Regions from separate parts of the Homo sapiens genome. Here all the other regions are linked to region 1. Evidence: promoter capture Hi-C in 16 types of primary human blood cells and fetal thymus (Javierre and others, 2016). All regions are on one chromosome and are shown on one strand. The core of a region is centred on a gene start or on the middle of the fragment in contact, and the rest is flanking DNA. Distances in the headings are between cores, read along the strand shown. Region 1 holds the start of SYT15 (synaptotagmin 15). Region 2 overlaps LOC105378283 (a long non-coding RNA gene). Region 3 has its middle 70 kb from the start of MIR3156-1.

Region 1 (4,160 bases), core at 1,115-3,614:
GGCTAGTGCTCAAAATTCTCTCGGCCCTGAAGAAAGGGCTAGATTTTCTTTTATACTTTGGTTTAGAAAGGGGAGGAGGAGCCTAGCTGAAGCACTCTTACAGAAGCAAAACAGGCAAAAAGTTAAAAGACAAATGGTTACAGGAAAACAAACAGTTCCAGGTGCAGGGGTTTTAAATCCATCACAAGGCGATAGATGCGGGGGCTTTGGGTACCATCAACCGGACACAAATGTGGGGGCTTAGGGTACTATCAACTGGGCAAATTCCTGGGAACTGCGGATATAGCTTGCCACAGTATCTTATCCATTAATTGCATTCTTTGATGTGCTGGGAGTCAGCTTGCACAAGTTAAGTCCTTGAGGAAGGGGGGTGGGTAAGGGGCTGCAAGTGAAGGAGCCAAAATGGAGTGTGTCTGGCTCTCTCAGCTAAGGGACAGTCAATTCAGGTTAAAACAAGGTAGGGTATCACACTTACAAGAGGGAGGCAGAAAGAGTTGATGTGAAATGACCTGGAGTGGGAGAGGTTAGAAAAGGCTGTGCTGCCGGCTTTGAAGACAAAGGAAAGGGCCACTAGCTAGCAGCCTCTAGGAGCTGGAAACGCTGGGAAACAGCTCCCTTGCCTCCAGAAGGCACAGGCCCTGCCAACCCAGTTTAGATTCCCGACCCCCCGAACTGTGAGATAACATGCATGTGGCTTAAACTACTCAATCTGTGGTACTTTGTTGCAGGGGCAACAACAAACATACAGACATCTAACTCAGACCCGAGGCCTTGGGTGGGACCCAGGCCCCATTTCCTGAGACACCTGCTCCCACAGCGACCTGGGGTAAGCAGAAGTGGGGGAGGATTCTCCAGACACCCCAGACTGTCTCCAAGTAGAGCGGAGATCTCGCCAGTTAAGCGCACAGCTGAGGACAGTTACTGGGTGAAGTGGCCTGGGTCTCCGCCTTCTCATGCCCCCACCGCCCAGACCCTAGAAGGGGAGTGGCTGCGGCCTCTGCACCCTGGCGCTGAGGGCTCCCAGACCCGGCCCAGTGGGGCACCCCAGTTCACCACCCTCCTCGCCTTAGGTGAGCCAAAGCCCAGGCAGGGTGGAGCCTCACGCACACTGACTGCCCCCTAGGACAGGCACAGGTGACGCGGGGGTGTGGGACCCAGGCTATGACTCTGGACATAACCTTCAAGGCTGTAAAACGAGAAGGTCCATCCCCCCAAAACACGCACTCCCCCACAACCACCCCCTCCCCCCCCCCACACACACACACTCCCCTGCACCACAGATACACACATTCCTTTCGCTCCCCACTCAGACGCCTCGAGGCCTCGGCGGGGGAACCATAGGGGCGCGACCAGGGCGCGCCGAGGTGTGACCAGAGAGGACACGCAGCGACCTTACTCCCGCCTTTCCCGCAAGGCGCGTTCGCCAGCCTGGACTAGTGGGCACGGGCCCTGCGTTCTAATAATCACCATAATAATAGGCGCTGGGTGTACAGAGGGGACCCAGGCGACGCTGGCCTCCATCCGATAACCACCGTAACAGGGGCTGGGCCGCGCCGCTCCTCCGCTCTAAGTGCTCTTTACATGCTTCTTAAGTTACCGGCAGGCCAGCCGCCCTTACGAGAGCCCCTCACGGACATTAACCCAATTGAGAAGACTGAACCCAGCTTACGAACGTTAAGTTGTCCCAAATCGCAGGGCTGGCGAGTGAGGAGCCTGAATTGGAACCCAGGAGCTTCTGGAACCCGCTCCAGAATTGCGCTCTCGACCGGTTTGTCCGCTGAGAGCGAACGGGTGCGCGAGCGCCGCATCCCTGCCCAAGGCCATCAGGCAGGCAGCGCTGGGGCCGGGGACCCGCGCGGAGACTCCACCCCGGGATCCGGGAAGGCTCCCCCGAGCCGGGGTCGGAGCTGCGGCTGGAGGGGCCTCGGCTTGAGGAGGATCTGGGAGGGCGGGGGCTCAGTCCTGGCCACCAGGTGTGAGGGGTCGGGTGCGGAGCCCTGTGTCAGACGCGGCGGTGAAGGCTGTAGCCCTGCTCTCCGGGATGGGGGTGGTACTCTCACCCCACCCTGCCCCAAGCCGCAGGGAGCCCCTGGCGCCCCTGGCGCCCGGGACCCGCCCTGGCTGGAGCCCTGCGGTTTCCGGGAGCTCACGGTCGGCTCTGCGCCCCTCCACCGCCGGGCCTGGGCCTGGGCCAGGGACGGGCTGGGGCGGGACTGCGGCCTCGGGGCGCTGGGTCCCTGCCCCTGCCGTGCACTGCGCGGCTCCCCGCGCCGCAGCTGGGCACCAGCAGCACCACGGACCGCCCCTGTGCTCGCCCGACGGCGCCCCGCGGCGCTTTAAGAGACGGCCTGGCAGCCCAGCCCCAGCCGCCCAGACCGGCGAGACCAGCCTGCGGGAGCAGCCCCATGGCGGGTAAGCGAGCCTCGCCTCCCCAGCCCAGCCCCGGCCCCTCTGCGACCCTTCCAGCACTTGCCTCCGCCCCGCCGCCCCCGCTGGGGTGCAGCGCCTGCCCTGCCCGGCCTCGGCGCGCTCTTGGAGGGGCACTGGGATGGAGTAGACGCTGAGGCCCGCTCTTCGCGGTCAGTTGCGGCTTAGGAGGTGTGGGGGGTCCGGCCTTCTCACCACCCCACCCAGTGCAGATCCCTGAGACCTGAATGCCCCGCGGCCGCACGTCACCCTAAGGGAGGCACCTTTTTGGCCCGCCCCAGGTGGCCAGCGGTTGGAACCCAGCGTCTGAGCACCCCCGGGGCGAAGCCTCCTAGGTCCCGCAAATGCGGACGTGTGAGGGCCAGCAGCAACGGGGTCTTGCCCCCTTTTCCTCCCCACCTCGTCCACCGCGTCGCACCAACTCCCCTAAGCGCGTGCTCACCTTGATAGAGGGCTAGGGGAGGGAGCGGGTGTTAGAGAAGAGTCCAGCCTTGCAGCAGGTTCCAGGGCCCCAGAGGGTAGAGGTTTGATTGCAGACCAGGGGGAAGGTACCTTTCAGGGCTTTCCTTAACTGACTGCGTCCACACCCCAGCTCCCCTCCTGGCCTCAACAGGAGCCCAGGGGATATGGAGGTTCTGGTGAGGGCAGGTTTGATTTCTACTCAGAAGCGCAAGGAAATGGCTTCTTTAAGCCAGAATCCCAAGGGCAGGGCCAGCTGTTTTCCAAGGAAAACTAGAAGGTTCTGCCCAGGGCTCTCAGACCCTGGGGTAAACGGCTTCTCCTCTGAGAGCTGGCGGAACCTAGCCAGCAGCATCCCTCCCGGAACCCATCCCCAGCAGGCCTGCTCCTATCACTCCTGAGATCAAACCCAGAGGCAGGGTTGCTGCCCTAGTTCTGCCCCAGCAGGCCAGGGCTGTGAGGGAGAGTGGCTTTCCCAGGCAGGCATCATAGTACTGGTGGTCTCTGCCCCCAGAGCAGCTGGCCCTGGTGATTGGGGGCACCATCGGGGGGCTGCTGCTGCTGCTGTTGATCGGGGCAAGCTGCTGTCTGTGGAGAAGGTTCTGTGCCACCCTCACCTATGAGGAGCTGCCTGGGACACCAGCCATGGCCACCACAGCTGCCTCCAGTGGGCAGCGGGACAGGCCCTGCCAGCCGCATGCTAGGACCCAACTGAGCAGGTGAGGCAGGATGTGGGGCCAAGTGCGCCCCTGGAATTTCCCTCAGGGTGGGGTCGAAAAGGAAAGTTCTGTTTATGGGGGTGCCTCTTCTATGCTGCTTCGGTGCTGGGAGCTATCACAAAGAAACCCCAGAAACCTCACATCAGCTATTAGGCAGGTGTTATGAAACCCATGTTCCAGGTGAGGAATCTGAGGCTCAGTGCACATAAGCAACAGGTCCAGAGAACACAATTAGTAAGTGGCAGAACAGGAATCCAAACCCAGACTGGCTGACACTGTCAGGTGCTGTGTTCCTTCTTCAAATCCCACTGCTGTGTGTGTGTGTGTGTGTGTGTGTGTGTGTGTGTGTGCGTGTGTGTGTGTGTGTGTTGCCTGGTATGGGCCCAGAAAATGGTGCCCTGGCCTCCTCCTGGCTCCCGATGGCTTTTCTTCCTCCAGCCCCTGGTGCTCAACCGTCCTGGCTGAGCGCTCTGAGACCACACCATTGACTTGCCACCTACATGTTGTCTCCCTGACTCTGGACAGGCCACCAGCTGTGCCATTCGTGGTGCCCCC
Region 2 (4,160 bases), core at 904-3,403, 1.4 Mb before region 1:
ACTGATCCTAAAATTTACATGGAAAGGCAGAACAGCCAATGCAATATTGAAGAAAATACAATTGCAGCATTGACACTGCCCAACTTCAAAACTTAGAGTATGGTATTGGTGAAACAATAGACAAATAGATCACTGGAATAAAATAGCCCAGAAATAGACCACACTAATACAATCAACTAATCTTTAGCAGAAGTGCAAAGGCAATTCAGTGGGAAAAGGAGTCTTTTCAACAAATGATGCTGAAACAGATGGACATCAACACACACAAAAATCAATCTAGACAAAGACCTAACACCTTTCACAAAAATAAACTCAAATCACAGACCTATTATATAAAACACAAAGCTATCAAAATTTCTAGATATAACAAAGGAGAAAATCTAGTTGACCTGAGATTTGGCAATGACTTCTTAGATACAATACCAAAGGCACAACTTATGAAGGAAAAACTTGATAAGTGGGACTTCATTATATTTAAAAATTTCTGCTCTGTGAAAGATATCATTAGGGAAAAGAAAGACCAACTCAAACAAGGAGAAAATATTCGCAACACACATACCTGATAAAGAACTGGTATCCAAAATATGTAAAGACGACTTAAAACTCAACAACAAAGAACCCAATTAAAAAGTACATAAAAGATCTGAATGAACATCTCACCAGAGAAGATATACATATGGCAAATAAGCATATGAAAAGATGCTCAGCATCATATAGTCACTAGGGAATTGCAAATGGAAACAATGAGATACTACTGCATACCCACTAGAATGGCTAAAATCCAAAACACCACCACCACCAAATGCTGGTGAGGATGTGGAACAACAGAAAATCTCATTCTTTATTGGTAGAATGCAAAATAGTACAGCCACTTGAGATGACAGTTTGATAGTTTCTTCCAAAGCTAAACATAGTCTTATCACATGATCCAGTAATCACATTCCTAGGTATTCACCCAAAATCTGCACAAGAATGTTTACAACAGCTTTATTCATAATTGTCCAAATTTAAAAGCTGCCAAAATGTCATCCAACAGGTGAATGGATAAGCACAGTGTGGTACATCCAGACAACTGAGTATTATTCACTGCTAAAAAGAAATGAGTTATCAAACCACAAAAGGCATGGAGGAATCTTAAATGCATATTGCTAAGCAAAAGTAGCCAATCTGTAAAGACCTTATACTGTATGATTCCAACTATATGACATTCTGGAAAGGGTAAAATTATAGAGACAAAGGCAAACTGTAATATTTCAGTGGTTGTCTGAGATTTAGGAGGTAGATAATGAGGGAGAGGGGATGAAGAGGTAGAGCTGAGAGGATTTTTAGGGCAGTGAAACTGTTCCATATGATACTGTAATGGTGAATACATGATGTTAATTTGTCAAAACCCATAAAACTATACTATATAGAGTGAATCTTGATGTTAGCTATAAACTTTAGTTAATAATAATGCATCAACAGCCAGGCCAACATGGTGAAACCCCGTCTCTACTAAAAATCAAAAAAAAAAATGAGCTGGGCGTGATAGCGCATACCTGTAATCCCAGCTACTTGGGAGGCTGAGGCAGGAGAATCACTGGAACCTGGGAGGCAGAAGTTGTAGTGAGCCGAGATCGCACCATTGCGCTCCAGCCTGGGTGACAGAGCGAGACGCTGTTTCAAAAATAAAAATAAAAACAATAATGCATCAATATTGGTTCAGCAATCATAGCAAATGTAACACACCAATGCAAGATGTTAATATGGAAAACTAGGAAGGGGAGATGGAGGAGAGATGTGAATCTGTACTTCCTGCTCCAGTTCTCTGTAAATCAAAAAGTGCTCTTAAAAAAAAAGCCTATTTTTTTTCAAAGAGGGAGAATGAAGATAGCATATGCATAAAACAATTGTTTTTAGCAATACTGACATTAGTAAAATTAGTATTGTTAATTGTGTGTTGGGTACCAAACACGTGATTGTGAGATGTTCTAATTCTATCATCACCAAAATCTGTGAGAGGCAGGGTTCTGAGAGGAAGGGAGAAGGCCCAGATGAGGCATAGAAGGAGTTAAATAAAAGCTTTGCAGTCTGTTATGTATTTCCATTGGAACTACCAGTATAAGCTCACGATGCTGGCAGTCTCATGACTTAAAGGGAGAGTGATTGGGAAGAGCAGGAGCTCCCAACCTACTAACGTTTCTTGCTTTGAAAATCTGTCAACTTGTACTGTCATATATGCACTTATCTATGTGAATACTTCAGTAAAGCTTTTTGGAGTAGGATTTTTTAAAAACTATGTGTAAGTATTTTCAGAAGATGAAGGTTCCTGTTTCCTTGGTTCAAATGGTATCAAGATAGGTAGGTTGCGTCCCTGAATGCATTCCTAAATTGATACAGAATCATTAGCCCAGACAGGGTAGCTACCATAGCTTCTAGAACATGACCAGATGGCCACAGGCACTCAGCGTGCTCGCTGAATTAGCTGTTCATCTTCTTCTCTTCCACAGGGTATGTGTATATGACTGTCAGAAATGAGTAAGGCGAAACAGGATAAGCTAAGAACACTGCTTCTGAAGTCTGCTGGTGTGGGTTCAAATCTGGGCTCTACCACTTATTTTCTGGGTGACTTTGAGCAAGTTAATGAAGCTCTCTAAATCTGTTTCCTTACCTATTAGATAATAACAATTAAACTGTGAGGTTTGAAAGATTAATCCATACAGAGGGCTTAGCACAATGCCTGGGACATAGTAAATGTGTGTGTGTATTAATACACCCCATGCATATATGGCATGTTATTTCGATCATATTATCTATTATTTTCATCCTCCTAACAAAGGGTGAACAACTTTATAGAATACAAATATATAATAAATCATATAGGTATCTTTGACACGGCCTAAAGACTTAAGCACTTACAGCTGTTTTATTATTTGTTCATTTATTTTGAAACAGAGTCTCACTCTTGTCACCCAGGTTGGAGTGAAATGGCGTGATCTTAGCTCACTGTAGCCTCCATCTCTCGGGTTCAAGTGATTCTCCTGTCTCAGCCTCCCAAGCAGCTCGGATTACAGGCATGGGCCATCATGCACAGCTAATTCTCATATTATTAGTAGAGACGGGGTTTCACCATGTTGGTCAGGGTGGTCTCAAACTCCTGACCTCAGGTGATCCACCCACCTTGGCCTCCCAAAGGGCTGGGATTGCAGGTGTGAGCCACTGCACCCGGCCTCACTTACAGCTGTTAAGAAAACCAAGTTACATAGACTACCATTCAAATATTGAGATTGCAAACCATATTACCATTCTCTGGTCTGCACTATGTCCTGAAAAACCATGAGGCCAAACCCCCGTTGCAAGTAATTGCCCGTTCTGATGTGTGCCTTTCATTTGACCTCACCCTTAAAATTATAAGCTACACAGAGTCCAAAGGAATAATTAATGTATATGCAGAGAAATAGATGAAATAAAAAGGATATTTATGAGGTATGGGTACTATAACTAAAACTACCATTTAATGTAATTCGCGTTTATTCTGTTTGATACATGAACCAATATTTCCCCAACACAATCTTTTCCAGCACCATACTTGGTACTGTTTTAAGCTAATGTTCTAAGTTTGAAGACAGAAGAAAATGAATTAATATATGGTATAAAAAGATCTCACATCTGTTCATTCCATTCTGTTAAGATTAATAGTTTTTTAGGAAACCATGAAGAAAGTGGGGAGGGTTCTGCTAATACTGATCAGATGGAGATTAAGTTGCTTCTTATGTTTTCCTCAATAGTTGAAGCTCTGCAACCATCCTGTAAATCCAAGTTTCCAAGCTGGCAGGGTTTTCAATTATTATCCATACCAACTGTAGCACTGGTTATAATGGCAAAGCAGTGGGTGTTATGGTTTCTTATGGTGAAAATATAACTACTTCACATCTAATAAACACCTTATCGTCATCTTAACACAGCAAATAATACTTTGTCACTAGATAATCTTAAAATTCAATATAAGGCTGGGTGCAGTGGTTCATGCCTGTAATCCCAGCACTTCAGGAGGCCAAGGTGGGCAGATCACTTGAGGTCAGGAGTTCAAGACCAGCCTGGCCAACATGGGAAAACCTCGTCTCTACTAAAAATACAAAAATTAGCCGGGCATGGTGGTGGGCACCTGTAATCCCAACTAC
Region 3 (4,160 bases), core at 1,244-3,743, 1.3 Mb before region 1:
CCGCCTCCCAGGTTCAAGCAATTCTCCTGGTTCATCCTCTCAAGTAGCTTGGATTACAGGTGCCTGCCACCACACCCAGCTGATTTTTGTATTTTTAGTAGAGACGGGGTTTCGCCATGTTGGCCAGGCTGGTCTCAAACTCCTGACCTCAGGTGATCCATCCACCTCAGCCTCCCAGAGTGGTGAGATTACAGGCATGAGCCACCATGCCCAACCTACAAATATTGATTCTATCCATGGTTTGGTGAAAACCATAAAAGTACAGCTTATTCTCCATGGCATTGGCAGGGGTCGTGTATAAAGATGACAAAGTCCTGTCTAGCATGCTGCAGAGGGAAAGTGCTGAGTGAACATGCTGAGTTACCCACTTAGCAGTCCCAAGTTAATTGCAATGTGGATGGATGCCATGCATAAGCAGCATGAAATTTTATGAAGACCTGATTTGAGGAAGCCACGAAGGGAGCTATGCTGGTATCCTAAAGTTGAAAAAAAAGTATCAAATTATATACTTCACATATTTGAAACTTTTTCTAGAAATGTTAACCTAGTAACAAAGTACCACATAAAGAAATTTTATAGAATTTACAGTGAACCTGCATATATTTCTTGAAGTAACCTTGCAAAGAATGAATGCAAATGCTTTACAAAGAAATATTTCTGGGCATGGGGAGTTAAGGGAAAATGGGGAAGGACTGCTAGTGGGTACAGGGTTTCTTTTGGGGAGTAATGAAAGTGTCCCAAAATTGGCTGTGCTGATAATGGCCACACAACTCTGTGAATCTACTAAAGACCACTGAATTGTATACTTTAAGGAGGTGAATTGCATGGTATGTAAATTGTATGTATGGAAATGTATGGTATGTAAATTATACCTCAATAAAACTGTTATCGAAAAATTTGAACTTCTTATTCAAGTTCTTACTGCAAATTTAATTTTTCTTAAAGAAACATATGTAAGTGAAATGATCACACTAAGTAAAATATGCTATTTTCATCCTCAATGTTTATAGCTTCCTCTTGGGATTTATTTTCATATACTTCTGTGGAACAGTGTGTGTTTGTCTGTGTGTTGAGGGGAATAGATGGGTCCCCGTTTTCTCTCACTTTCTGTTCATTCATTTGGCAAATATTGATCAAGTCACTGCCACACTGCAGGTATTGTTTTTAGTACTAGGGATATTAAAAAATGAGCAAAACAGGCAAAAAGCCCTGCTCTCATGATGCCCACATTACTGGGTTTTCCTGCCTCAGCCCCACCCCAAGTCATCAAAACACAGACTTATTTCCAAGATACTCACTAATTCAAGTGAGTATAGATTTTTTTCTGTAAGAGATATATCAAGGTATATGCAATATTTTTATTCCTATGCATGTCTACTTTTTACCTCCACTTTAATCTGCTTCCAAATTTCAACAACTTCTTTTATATTGACAAACTAGTATGGACAGTCAACAGAAGTTTTAGAATCTCCTTTGATTCTCCTTGTTTTTCCCATTATTCTTTCATTTGCTTGATGTTCATATTCTGTAGTTGCAAGGGATAGAGGATTTCCCTGTGAACAATGGTATTTACCATAACACAAAATATCTCCCAAATCAGGGGATGGTTTGTATTTATATTAGCAAAATAAGGAGCCACCTCTGTATGTAAATTGTATGTATATAAATGTAAGTTTACATTTTACATACATATTTACATGCATATTTACATACATACAAAAGTTGAATTGTATACTTAAGGAGTATATATAAAAAAGTATATGACTTTTGTATGTGAATATGCATGTAAATATGTATGTATGTAAAATGTAAAAGTTGTATGTATGTAAATATTAGCAAAATATTACAACTTACAAAAAGTTACATACTTACAAAAAGTTGTAAGTATGTAAATATTAGCAAAATAAGAGCTACCTCTCTATGTAAATTGACTATTTTATACTTATGTTTTACTTTTTTAAATTTATGTTTAACATTTATAAAGTGTTAAATCAGTGGTACCTTTAAGGAAAAAAACAATTACACATGAAATTATATCTACATTTATAAAAGAAAATGTAAAACTGGGAAAATACTGTAAACACCAACAGTTTAAAAATTGATGTATCTCGCTATATATTACAGCTTAACGCGGCACTGGATTAAATGGCAATCACTTCTCTCAGTGACTCAGTTTTCTTTTATCTGCAAAGTCCAGGATATACTTGTTCTTTCCACCTTACGGGATTGTCACTGTGGGGATCAAATGGGGTTATATGTTTGCAAGCCACTGAAAACCATGCCCACAAAAAAAAAAAAACCTGTCAATATAAAGTCATGATATTGTTAAAATTGTCTCTTTTCCTCCCTTTTGAAATGTTTGTAAATTTCAATTCAATGTCTAAGAGCTGGTTAGCTTCTAAATCTGATGTGTGGCACATTTACTGGGGTCTCTGTCTGTGGGCCTTCTGTGCAACCCCGTAATACAGTATCTGCTGGTCCTGCGATCACCATTTCTCACCAAGTAATGTAACTCCGTGTATAAAGATATCACTAACAAAAAGTTTATTAAGTGTTGTCTGTAGTTGCAAAAAGTTCAAGAGACCTAAATGTCCACTTAGAGGGGCTTCGTTAAATAAATTAGGCTGCACTTATGCAATGGAATACTCTCCAAAAACTAAATACGATGCACCAGTGTTTTTATTAAGATAAGATATTAATGATGTATTGGTAAGTGGAAAAAACACAACATCAAACAGTAAAAAATATGCATGTAAAATATATGCAAAGATATTCAAAGAAAGGTGTTAAGAATATATGAGAATGCTAGGGTGTTAGAAAAATTAGTCTATTTTCTGATACTTCTGAAAATAGCATTTATCAATTTTATAAATAATATATTTTAAAAAACCATCTAGATTTCCAGCTGATATAATTCTCTGTCTAGTTTGATTACAAAGCCTAAGTGATTAAAGAGCAGAAAAATTAGAAACAGATACCCACTTGCCAGCAGCCACTTTTCCCTTACTTACTCTCTTGTTTTTTGAGACAGAGTCTGGCTCTGTCGCCCAGGCTGGAGTGCAGTGGCGCAATCTCGGGTCACTGCAACCTCCACCTTCTGGGCTCAAGCGATTCTCCTGCCTCAGCCTACTGAGTAGCTGGGATTATAGGCGTGTGCCACTATGCTGGCTAATTTTTGTATTTTTAGTAGAGATGGGGTTTCCCTATGTTGGCCAGGCTGATCTTAAACTCCTGACCTCAAGTGATCCAACTGCCTGGGCCTCCCAAAGTGTTGGGATTACAGGTGTGAGCCCATACTCTCTTTAAGTATCTACTTGCACATAAAATGAGAGGACCGTAAGCACAGATGCCTGCAATATTGAATCAACATCAGATTCTGAGTTGTTGTTTGTAAAGCCCTGATATGAGCTTTACAAAAACAAACTATCAGTCACCATTTCTTCAAAGAATTCCTGCAATTTTCAGCAAGAAGTAGATAAAATAGAGCCAGGTGTCCAAATGTTCTATAGTTTTATTTATGCAGAAATAAACATGGGTATTCAACCCTAGGCGGTGCACTGACGTCACAGAGGGAGCTTTTAAAAAACAGCATGCTGTGGCTCCTCCCCGGGAAATCCTGATTCAATAGGTTTCAGTGGGAACTGGAAGTCTAATGTAAGTAACTCCACAGGTGATTCTGAAGCAGAGCTGATTTTGGTAACTATTAATAGTAATTTAATGCAATGCCCACCAGATGGCACTCATGCTCCGAGAATAGAAAGGCAAGTCGGAAAACTGCTCAATTTGTTAAAGGCTGTGCTTTGTACTCTGCATGTGTCTGCCTTTAAAAGCCTACACCAGGCCGGGCGCAGTGGCTCACGCCTGTAATCCCAGCACTTTGGGAAGCCAAGGTGGGCGGATCACCTGAGGTCAGGAGTTCAAGACCAGCCTGGGCAACATGGCGAAATCCCGTCTCTACTAAAAGTACAAAAATTAGCCGGGCGTGGTGGCAGGCCCCTGTAATCCCAGCTACTCACGAGGCTGAGGCAGGAGAATTGCTTGAACCTGGGAGGCGGAGGTTGCAGTGAGCTGAGGTTGTGCCCCTGCACTCCAGCCTGGGTGACAAGAGCGAGACTCTGTCTCAAAAAAAAAAAAAAAAGTCTACATTAAGTGACTCATTG

Evidence for each region. Contacts are between HindIII fragments. The CHiCAGO score rates a contact against its expected background, and 5 or more counts as called.
Region 2: a fragment that was not itself captured here is called in contact with the fragment with the promoter of SYT15 in region 1 in 5 of 17 cell types (total B cells, non-activated CD4 T cells, naive CD8 T cells and 2 more); the score reaches 9.5 in total B cells.
Region 3: a fragment that was not itself captured here is called in contact with the fragment with the promoter of SYT15 in region 1 in 2 of 17 cell types (total B cells and naive B cells); the score reaches 9.8 in total B cells.

The regions. Positions count from the first base shown.
Region 1 is chr10:46,576,764-46,580,923 of GRCh38, forward strand. SYT15 (synaptotagmin 15) reads left to right here and starts at 2,365. Exons shown (of 8, transcript NM_031912.5): 1 at 2,365-2,412; 2 at 3,401-3,605; 3 at 4,131-4,160. The coding sequence starts at 2,406. RefSeq lists enhancers at 2,230-3,107, 3,108-3,987. The HindIII fragment of the contact is 10,756 bases long and covers 1-4,160 here.
Region 2 is chr10:45,214,119-45,218,278 of GRCh38, forward strand. LOC105378283 (a long non-coding RNA gene) reads right to left here. Exons shown (of 6, transcript XR_001747443.2): 3 at 1,539-1,656. Among named protein-coding and RNA genes, the nearest start is that of MIR3156-1, 52 kb to the left of the region's middle. The HindIII fragment of the contact is 188 bases long and covers 2,060-2,247 here.
Region 3 is chr10:45,231,650-45,235,809 of GRCh38, forward strand. It overlaps the pseudogene CUBNP2. Among named protein-coding and RNA genes, the nearest start is that of MIR3156-1, 70 kb to the left of the region's middle. The HindIII fragment of the contact is 8,662 bases long and covers 1-4,160 here.